Regions from separate parts of the Homo sapiens genome. Here regions 1 and 2 are each linked to region 3. The links are contacts of gene promoters, found by promoter capture Hi-C in human tissues and cell types (Jung and others, 2019). All regions are on one chromosome and are shown on one strand. Each heading gives the region's core, a stretch centred on a gene start or on the middle of the fragment in contact. The rest is flanking DNA. Distances are from core to core; before and after follow the strand shown. Region 1 has its middle 9.2 kb from the start of ZNF763. Region 2 has its middle 38 kb from the start of ZNF823. Region 3 holds the start of ZNF791 (zinc finger protein 791).

The links. Contacts are between HindIII fragments. The study calls those that stand out against the background at their distance.
Region 1: a contact is called between a fragment that was not itself captured here and the fragment with the promoter of ZNF791 in region 3, in 1 of the 25 tissues and cell types used here (dorsolateral prefrontal cortex).
Region 2: a contact is called between a fragment that was not itself captured here and the fragment with the promoter of ZNF791 in region 3, in 1 of the 25 tissues and cell types used here (hippocampus).

The regions. Positions count from the first base shown.
Region 1 is chr19:11,954,022-11,957,740 of GRCh38, forward strand. It overlaps a transcript of ZNF69 not described here. Among named protein-coding and RNA genes, the nearest start is that of ZNF763, 9.2 kb to the right of the region's middle. The HindIII fragment of the contact is 4,304 bases long and covers 57-3,719 here.
Region 2 is chr19:11,699,717-11,702,920 of GRCh38, forward strand. No RefSeq gene overlaps it. Among named protein-coding and RNA genes, the nearest start is that of ZNF823, 38 kb to the right of the region's middle. The HindIII fragment of the contact is 5,071 bases long and covers 1-3,204 here.
Region 3 is chr19:12,608,831-12,612,340 of GRCh38, forward strand. It overlaps ZNF791 (zinc finger protein 791), which reads left to right and starts at 2,090. Exons shown (of 4, transcript NM_153358.3): 1 at 2,090-2,252. The coding sequence starts at 2,250. It overlaps ZNF490 (zinc finger protein 490), which reads right to left and starts at 1,983. Exons shown (of 5, transcript NM_020714.3): 1 at 1,734-1,983; 2 at 328-372. The coding sequence starts at 1,850. RefSeq lists enhancers at 1,652-1,871, 2,202-2,261 and a silencer at 2,002-2,061. The HindIII fragment of the contact is 50,335 bases long and covers 1-3,510 here.

The sequences.
Region 1 (3,719 bases), core at 959-3,458, 650 kb before region 3:
TTGTGCTTTTTTTATAAAACAAGGTGAAAAAACAGGAAAAAAATTTCAGATCAAGGAAGTTAAGCAGATTAATAGGAGAAAAGTTATACAAATTTATTTAACATGTATATATGGGAGCCTTCAGAATGAAGACCCACCCAACAATAAGACAAAAACTTATATACCATTCCAGGGTAGGAAAGAATGCAGATGTGGCATGGCCAAAAAATCCCAGGTTTGATGGGTAAGTCAAGTTTAATAGCAAGACAGATTCTGCAAGAGGAAAGGAAGAAGCTTGGCTAGCAAAGCAGACCTTTTTATGCAGATGAAGGCTCCCTCAGAGAGAATAGGTGGGAAATTCTGCTTTTCATTCAGACTTTCATTTAGAATTTTAAGTAATAGAGTCAGGATTATGCTATGTTGCTTGGGTTGCTCTCTAATTGTTTGTCTCAAGCAGTCCTCCCAGCTCAGCCTCCCAAAGTGCTGGGATTCGAGGCATGAGCCACCATGCCCAGACAAGGTTTGTCTCCTTATAAAGAATTATTCATTGCTGGGCACAGTGGCTCACATCTGTAATCCCAACAATTTGGGAGGCCAAGGCAGGAGGATCACTTGAGCCCAGGAGCTCAAGACCAGCCACAGCAACATGACGATTCCCTCTCTCTACAAAAAATACAAAAAATTAGCTGGATGTGGTGGCACATACCATATCCAGGAGGCTGAGGCAGAAGGAGAACCAAAGCCTGGGAGGTTGATGCTGCAGTGAGCTGTGATTGTGCCCCTGCACTCCAGCCTGGGTAATTGAGTGAGGGCCTTTGTTAAAAAACAAAAAACAAAAAAAATTGTTCACTTATTGCAGCTTCAGATTTTTTTTAATGAATTGTAAATTGCATTTTCATTACAATTGGAAAGATAAGAAAATTTTGCACAGAGCCCAGATAAAGACAGATTTCAGAAAAATATCATTTGTCTTATATAGAGTTTGTTTCAAAAAAATTTTTTTTTTTTTTTTTTTTTTTTTGAGACAAAGCTTTACTCTTGTTGCCCAGGCTGGAATGCAATGGCTCAATCTTGGCTCACTGCAACTTCTGCCTCCCAGGTTCAAGTGATTCTCCTGCCTCAGCCTCCTGAGTAGCTGGGACTACAGGCGCATACCACCATGCCTGGCTAATTTTTGTATTTTTAGTAGAGACTGGATTTCACCATATTGGGTAAGCTGGTCTCAAATTCCTGACCTTGTGATCCGCCCACCTCGGCATCCGAAAATGCTGGGATACAGGCGTGAGATACCGTGCCCAGCCTGAAAATTCTTGTTTAATTTTTTTCTTCCTTAGAGGCCGTGTAGTACATTTCTTGGTCTATCCTTTTTCGTGGATGATTTCTTTTTCTTTCTTTCTTTTTTTTTTTTTTTGAGACAAGGTCTGGCTCTGGTGCCCAGGCTGGAATGCAGTGGCACAATCTCAGCTCACTGCAGCCTTCATCTTCCAGGCTTAAGCTATCCTTCCACCTCAGCCTCCCTAATAGCTGAGACCACAGGTGCACGCCACCATGCCCAAAGTGCTGGGATTACAGGTGTGAGCCACCGTGCCTGGCCATTTATGCATCATTTCTAACAGTTTCAGGGCTTAGCTTTGGGAATGCTGCTTGGGAAAAGAAATAGGGAAAATCTTTTATTACAGCTGGAGAAAAGGAATAAACTTCTACAACAAAGTATAGTAGATAATCAGTGAATTACAAAGATTCGGAAAAATATCAGTCCTCCTTTGCAGGTTGGAGAACTTGTAACGGTGGATAACTCTTCTCTTCCTGTTATCTGTGGGGTAAGACCTGGCTGGCAACTGTTGTGATATGTTTATATTCACATATGGTTAATGTGTAGTATGTGCTTTGTTATGGAAATCATAATGAAGTAATAATGTCCACCTTAATAAGATAATAAAATTCAGATAATATGATTAAATATTGAGTTTATGTGAACACAAAGTTTGAGGGTAGCCACTGGGGAAACACATCCTGAAGAGTGGGGTCACTGCTCCCACTCTTAACTGGAGAAGTTAAGTCTTCACTTCTGTAGGGCAAAATGAAGATGCTTAATAGGGTTACATTTTCCATACAAAGCCAATGCATATATTTCAATGATTTCATTGGTTGCCGCTTGCCAAATTGCAGCTTACCAAATTTCAAGGATGATTGCTTTAACTTTTTGTAAGGAGGGGTAGTGGTATCAAAAGGATCCTACCTCTGGCACTTCTCAGTGTTTTCTAATGACTTATAGCCCAAGAACAAGGAAGAGAGTTAATCTTTTTGACATGCACACGGAAGGAGCAATTACATGGTAGCGTAAACACATTTCTCAATATGTTTATTGAGTGAAAGGGTTAGATACTTTCCCTGATGAGGGGTGATAGGTAAGTGCCTTATAATTTCCTTCCAGCCTATAATAAACCGAGTTTGAGAGATTTTGCCGGATTCTTCAAACACTGGGTATTTTCTCATTGAAACAGAGGCCTGAGTCCAGTGACTGCAAACTAAAGCCAGTGAGAAACCTACAAAGAGAGGTCATTGAAAGCTCACACCAGGCGCAGTGGCTCACACCTGTAATCCCAGCACTTTGGGAGGCCAAGGCAGATGGAGCATCTCAGGTAAGGAGTTTGATACCAACCTGGCCAAAATGGCGAAACCCCATCTCTACTAAAAATACAAAAATTAGCCAGGTGTAGGGGCTCAAGCCTGTAATCTCAGCCATTCGGGAGGCTGAGGCATGAGAACTGCTTGAACTCGGGGCGGAGGCTGCAGTGAGCCAAGATCACACCATTGCACTTCAGATTGGATGACTGAGCAAGACTCTCCAAAAAAATAAATAAAGCTCACCTGGTTCTTCCCATGGTGCTCCCACTGCAGGTGTTTTCAGCTGCTCAAATTGACCATGGGAGGAGCGCTTTATACTGACAGAACCTCAGATCCCTGGAAAGCTAGGGATCCACAGGCAGATACAGTACTCAGTGATGCCCTCCGCAAGTGACAGTTTTTGTCATGGAGCTTTTCCTAGACGTTTCTAGTGAAACAAATGTAGGTTTCAGTAAGAAATAAGTTTTTTTTTTTTTTTTTTGAGATGGGGTCTCGCTCTGTCGCCCAGGCTGGAGTGCAGTGGCACGATCTCAGCTCACTGCAACCTCCACCTCCCGGTTTCATGCCATTCTCCTACCTCAGCCTCCCGAGTAGCTGGGACTACAGGCGCCCGCCACCATGCCCAGTTAATTTTTTCTATTTTTTTTAGTAGAGATGGGGTTTCACCATGTTAGCCAGGATGATCTCAATCTCCTGACCTCGTGATCTGCCTGCTTCGGCCTCCCAAAGTGCTGGGATTACAGGCGTGAGCCACCGTGCTCAGCCAAGAAGTAACTTTTAATTACCTTAATGACCCTGAAATCAGCTTGTCATTAGGAGAGGTCATAAAAAGAGTCTAGGTACTGAACTTGCAAGTAAAAATAAAAATATTAAATAAATACATAAAGTGGGGTTGCATATAAGCCTAGAAGGGATCAGTCAAAAATTCAGGGGTGGCTGGGTGTGGTGGCTCATGCCTGTAATCCCAGCACTTTGGGAGGCTGAGATGGGCAGATCACTTGAGATCAGGAGTTCAAGACCACCCTGGCCAGCATGGTGAAACACCATCTCTATGAAAAATATAAAAATTAGCTGGGTGTGGTGGCACACACCTGTAACACCAGCTAGTCTGG
Region 2 (3,204 bases), core at 158-2,657, 910 kb before region 3:
GAGGCTAAGGCACGAGAATCACTTGAACCTGGGGAGGTGGAGGTTGTAGTGAGCCGAGATTGAGCCACTGCACCCCAGCCTGGGTGAAAGAGCGAGGCTCTGTCACAAAACAAAAAAAACAAAAACACACACACGCACACGCACACACTAATCAAAAGTGAACTCTCCCCTTTTTCCTCTGTTTCAGCAGCTCCCCAACCTTCACAGTTCATGGTTGTCATCACGTGCTCTGTACCTGGTAATGGACATGTTCAGTTTACCCATCTGAAACTCTCAACCCCACTCCATCACCACTGACCCATCCAATCATTTCTGCAGCTAAATTCTAAGCATTGTATAAATACCTCTTCCCTTTCAGCAGTCCAGCTGGCCCAGGTTGAATCCACCTGTGGCTCTCTCATTTCCCTCAATTTCAATTATTCATTTGAAACTATCTTCCAGGATCGACTGTGATATCTTGTATGATGACCACATTCCCTTTATTTGCTTCTGTTCTTCCTAACCCATGTCGCCACCTGTTCATTGAGGGCACAGACAGAATATTCTAAGCTGACTATCACCTGCTGTAAATTCTGGAGTCTCAGCACAACCTGGAGAAATCCACAGCCCAGAGAGGATGTTAATGCCATCCTTACCACAAGAGGGAGCTTCTTATTTTCACTTCTGGAAAATGGCTAAAAACAGAATTTTGGAGTTTTACATAGCACAATATAGATGATAGAAGTAAAGGTAACACCATTCAATTTTGTTTCATTTTCTTTCTTTTTTTTTTTCTTTGAGACAGGGTCTCACTCTATTGCCCAGGCAGGAGTGCATTGTCACGATCACAGCTCACTGCAGCCTCAACCTCCTGGGCTCCAGTGATGCTCCTGCCTCAACCTCCAGTTAGCTGGGACCACGGGTGTGTACCACCATGCCTGGCTTATTTTTTAAAAAGTTATTTGTAGAGGTAGGGGTCTCACTATGTTGCCCAGGTGGTCTTGAACTCTGGGCTCAAGTGGTCCTCTTGCCTCGGCCTCCCAAAGTGTTAGGATTACAGGTGTGAGCCACTGTGGCCAACCTGGTTTCATTTTTATGATTTAACTTTTCCTAGGTTAAAAAAGCAAATAAGTCCATGCACAGTGGCTCACCTCTGTAATCCTAGCACTTCGGGAGGTCGAGGCTGGAGGATCACTTGAGCCAAGGAGTTTGAGACCAGCCTGGAGCCTGGGCAACCTAGTGACACCCTGTCTCCACCAAAGAAAGAAAGAAAGAGAAAGAGAGAGAGGGAGAGCAAAAAAGTCTGTGAATCTTAACTGAATTTCTCTGAATATGAGAAGTGCAAGGAAATATCTCTACAAACGGAAAGATGTAGGAGTAACTGAGGTGGTACAAAGGATTCTCTCTGAGATGGTGACATTTACTGTGAGACCTGAAATAATATATTAGGGCAGTAAAACGTTAGGGCAGAGGATTCAGGGAAGATGGCAGAGTAGCAAGCATAAAAAAGCTTTCTCAGGCCGGGCGCAGTGGCTCACGCTTGTAATCCCAGCACTTTGGGAGACTGAGGCGGGCAGATCATGAGGTCAGGAGTTTGAGACCAGCCTGACCAGCATGGTGAAACTCCGTCTCTACTAAAAATACAAAATTTAGCTGGGCATGGTGGCCTGCACCTGTAATCCCAGCTACTTGGGAGGCTGAGGCAGGAGAATCGCTTGAACCCGGGTGTCAGAGGTTGCAGTGAGCAGAGATTGCACCACTGCACTCCAGCCGACAGAGCGAGACTCCATCTAAAAACAAAAGCAAAAACAAAAACAAAAACAAAACCAAGCTGTCTCAGCCGGGTGTGGTGGCTCACAGCTATAATCCCAGCACTTTGGGAGGCTGAGGTGGGCAGATCACCCGGGGTCGGGAATTCGAGACCAGCCTGACCAATGTGGAGAAACCTCATCTCTACTAAAAATACAAAATTAGCCGGGTGCGGTGGTGCATGCCTGTAATCCCAGCTACTTGGGAGGCTGAGGCAGGAGAATCGCTTGAACCCGGGAGGCAGAGGTTGCGGTGAGCCGAGATCGCACCATTGCACTCCAGCCTGGGCAACAAGAGCGAAACTCTGTCTTAAAAAAAAAAAAAAAGCTGTCTCCCCACCTAGACAACCACTGGACTGACAGAATCATCTGATGTAGCAATGTTATAACTGTGGAGGCTATTGAAGCTTTGCAACTTCCATAAAAAGGATTAGACAGTAAACTATGGCTAATTGTGGTCATTTTATCACTTAGCACAATACAAGCTATCATCCCCACCCTTACCCCTGTTGCAGGCAGCTGCACATGGAGTGTTTTCCTCTAATTTGGCCTCGGGATCTCTCTCAGAAGCGTGGCTATAAACTTTAGTGCTGGCCAGGCGGGGTAGCTCATGCCTGTAATCCCAGCACTTTGGGAGGCCGAGGCGGGCGGATCACAAGGTCAGGAGATCAAGACCATCCTGGCTAACCTGGTGAAACCCAGTCTCTACTAAAAAAAATACAAAAAATTAGCCAGGCATGGTGGCGGGCGCCTGTAGTCCCAGCTACTCAGGAAGCTGAGGCAGGAGAATGGCGTGAACCCGGGAGGCAGAGCTTGCAGTGAGCCGAGATTGCACCACTGCACACCAGCCTGGGCCACTGAGTGAGACTCTGTCTCAAAAAAAGCAAAAACAAAAACAAACAAAAAGAACTTTAGTGCTGCATTGACGGGGCTCCAGGACACTTGGTTGTGGATATTTACAGTGTGACTTTCATGGGGTCTAATATTTAAGTGTTAACCCATAACCAAATGTCCTTCACAGGAAACTTGATTATACTGGCAGATGCCCTTATGGTTCTACCTCTGCCAAGTTAATCTCTACCAAGATAGCCAGATACCCACTCTCTACAGAGCCCTGACCTGGTAATAAGCTAGACATAGGTGTGGCAGTCAGGTGAGACGTGTGAGACAGCATCAGGCAGGCCAATATATGCACTGTGGGAGTTTCAGAAGGAGAAGAGACAGAGAAAGGTCAGGGGAGACTATTTGGAGAAATAATAGCTGCAAATATTCCAAATTAGATAAAAGCCATGAATGAATGCTGTCATCCAAGAAGCTCAATGAACTCCAGGTAGGATGAATGCAAAGAGAAGGACATGAAGACATATTATACTCAAATTGTCAAAGCCAAACATAAAGGGAGAACCTTGAAGGCAGC
Region 3 (3,510 bases), core at 840-3,339:
AACTCCTGAACTCAAGCAATCCTCCTACCTCAGTCTCCCAAAGTGCCAGGATTACAGGCATGAGCCACTGCACCCAGCCCAAATGTGATATTCCAAAGGATGCAGGTGGCTGTGTTGGGATGGCCAATGAAGGTAAGGGACAATGGAAGTACAGGGTGAGGGCAATGAACAGGACATACCTGAGAGCCTGGTTATTGGCCTTGACTATGGGAGTGCCTTCACAAAGACCCGAAAGACCCCCCCACAAAGAGGTCATAGAAGGACAGACCCAAATGGTCATTATAAACAAGGAAGGTAGCCACGCTGACAGGTAGCGATCTCACTTACAGTTTGAGTCTTGATGCTTTGTCCATGGTGTTCACTGTTCTGCATCTAATTAGAAACAAGAGGATGCATTTTGTGAGTTTCAGCAATTTAGAACTAAACATGACCTTTGACAGCCTTGGAAGCATTGTTCCCCCTGCATCTACCTGTACACACAGAGCTACCAGAAGGGTGGATCATGGGAGTTTTCAAGATTACACTGTCTCCTCTATAATGGGAAAAATGAAATATGTTTCTACTTTAAAAAAAAAATTTAGAGACAGTCTCTCTCTCTCCCAGGCTGGAATGCAGTGGCACAATCTTGGCTCACTGTAACCTCAAACTCTTAGCCTTGAGATCCTTCTGCCTCAGCCTCCGAAGGAGCTAGGACTACAGGTGAACACCATACCCAGCTAATTTTTAAAAATTTTTTGAGAAATGGGGTCTCGCTATGTTGCCCAGGCTGGTTTTGGGCTCTTGGTCTTTCCAAGTTCTGTAGGGACACTTTAGAAAACTTATTTGAGATAAATTTCCTTCCACTTTACAGCAACACGGATGGAACTGGAGGCCATTATCCTAAGTGCGATGATGCAAAAACAGAAAGTCAAAAACTGCATCTTCTTACATATAAGTGGGAGCTAAACAATGGGTAAACATGGACATACAGAATGGAATAATAGACACTGGAGATGCCAATAGGTTGGACAGAGAGGGGGGATGAGGGATGAAATATTACCTATTGGGTACAATATACACTCTTTGGGTGATGGGTGCACTAAAAGCCAGACTTCGCCACTATGAAATATATCCACGTAACACAAGTGCATTTGTAACCATAAATCTACAAAAATAAAAATAAAAATGAAAAGCAATAAAAACATGCTTAAACTAAAAACAAACAAACAAAAAAACAACGAAAACAAACCATTTCCTTCCAGAGTAAAACGCAGTTTACTGAGCACGTCTCATAGATCGTGATTGGTCTGAAGAGTCCCTGTGCCCAGGTTAGGGTTGCAATTTACCACCCGAGCCAAGTGCTCGGGTGTCCTACGGATTGTTTTTTCTTTCTTTCCTTTTTTTTTTTTTCTTGGGATGGGTTCTGGCCATGTTGCCCAGACTGAACTCAAACTCCTGGAGTCAAGCGATCCACCCGCCTCAGCCCACCCACCCCCCGACCTCCCCCACCGCCCCCACCACGCAGTAGCTGGGACTACGGGTGTGCGCCACCAAGCCCTGCCTTGGGGTTCCTTTTCTAAAGTGCCAAATGTGTGGAGGTGGGGAAAAGAAAGGTGGACGCCTCAACGCTGTTATGGTCAAAGATTAAAATGCAACCACACTTTTTATTACACATGATGGGGTAACCGTCTGTTTATAAACAAGGGTCACTATTCCACGAGAGGCCTTACAACATTATGCCAAGCCCCTGGTACCTGGAGGACATCAGACCCTCCTGTTCCTGTGCGGCCTTGACTAGACGACCACTTGCTCTGGACTTGCTCCTCGAGGGGTCGCTCCATCTGGAAACTGAGACTGGAATTCCTGCGCATCCCTGTCCCCGCATCCAGAAACACTGCAGGAAGACTTCCGTGTCCGACCCGAGATCCGGAACAATTTCTGCTTCAACACAATTGTCCACGGAGGGCACCAGTTCCGTCCCACCGGCGGAAGCGAGATCTGCCTAGCTACTAGACCTGCTGCCTAGCTGTCATTCGGACAAAAAGGGGCGGGGCTGTATAATTGTCCAATCAGGGGCGGCGCCGGAAAGGAGGGTACGGCTACGCTGCGCAAATGCGTGCTACGTCACTGTGCGATCGGGTTGTGCTTAGCTTGGGGTCTCCTGGCCCCTTGACGCGTCAGGTTGCTGTACCCCTGCATCGGATGCGCTGTACCCTGCGCTGGCTCCGTGAACCTTAGGGACAACACCGGGACACCCGCGAGGCCGGAAAATGGTGAGTGTGCAGGGCCGGACTAGTTGGAACCGGCCGTGATCGCGGGACCCGGGCCTCCCCACGGTCACCTCCGGCCGCAGTGTGGGGCTGGGCTGGCAGCTGGAACTCCAAGCGTCCTGTCCCGTCCCTGCGCGGCGACTGCGGTCCCAGCCCCGGAGCCCTCTCTGGACAACTCCGCGCCCGCAGCCCCGCGTCTTTCCCAGATCGTGCAGGGACCACGGGAGGGTCCTGGGGAGAATCCCGCCTTGTGTGTTTGGTTTGTGTGGGAGGAGCTACAGTCTGGGGTTCCCAGTCCCTTCTTTCTTCCCAAAGGCTGTTTCCCCCTGAGTCTTCCAAAGATGTTGGAAGCAGAGTCTCAAATCCACTACCCTGTCCCCCCAGCCTAGCTCCTCCCACGGCGGGCCATTAATCCCTAGATTTCCGGATCCCTCCCCGAATTCCCAAACGCCTACTTCCGCTCGCCAGTGGAAAACATCGTCACCAACTCTTTGTCCTGTGTGGTGCATTTCAAACACACGCAGTATTTTAATAATCTTTTTTCCAATAGATGCCTCTTTTAAACGATTTATTTCTTGTTTGTGGATATTTTACATCAGAGAAAAATCAGAAAAATTATTCACTTGGAACTAATCTGCATAAAATGCTGTGGCCCTCATCCTGGTACCTTTCCAGGGCACAGACATCCTATGGGAACTCCTTTGCGTTGAGGTTCCTTTTTGTAAACTTTCCTGGGTAATCTATCTTTTCAGCACAGTTTCAGATTGGCACTGTCCCGCCTTGGGTTTATGACCTTGAAAAGATTTATTCACTCGAATGTCATTTTTCCAATAAATATAAAATATATGTTATCAGAAGAACTTGAGAGACAGTACAAAATATTTCCAAAGGGCAAAAAAGAAATGAATCTCAGAAAACAAAAAACATCCCAATATTACATTTGTTAAAAATTCTTTGTTCTTTCCCTGAGCACATGGAATATGTTTCTCAGGTCTGTTCTTTTAGTTTGATGTTTCAGATGGTATTCCAGGACTTAAACTTGCAACATCTAGAAGCATTCAGATAGAAGTAATACTTTTGTAAACTATTTATTGCCATGGAAATAATTAACTGACATTATTATTTTCTTTTTTTTTTTTTTAACAGATGGGGTCTGGCTGTGTTGCTCAGGCTGATCTTGAACTCCTGGGCTCAAGCGATCCTCCACCCTCAGCATCCCAAAGTGCTAGGATTCCAGGCATGAGCTACTATTACCGGCCCA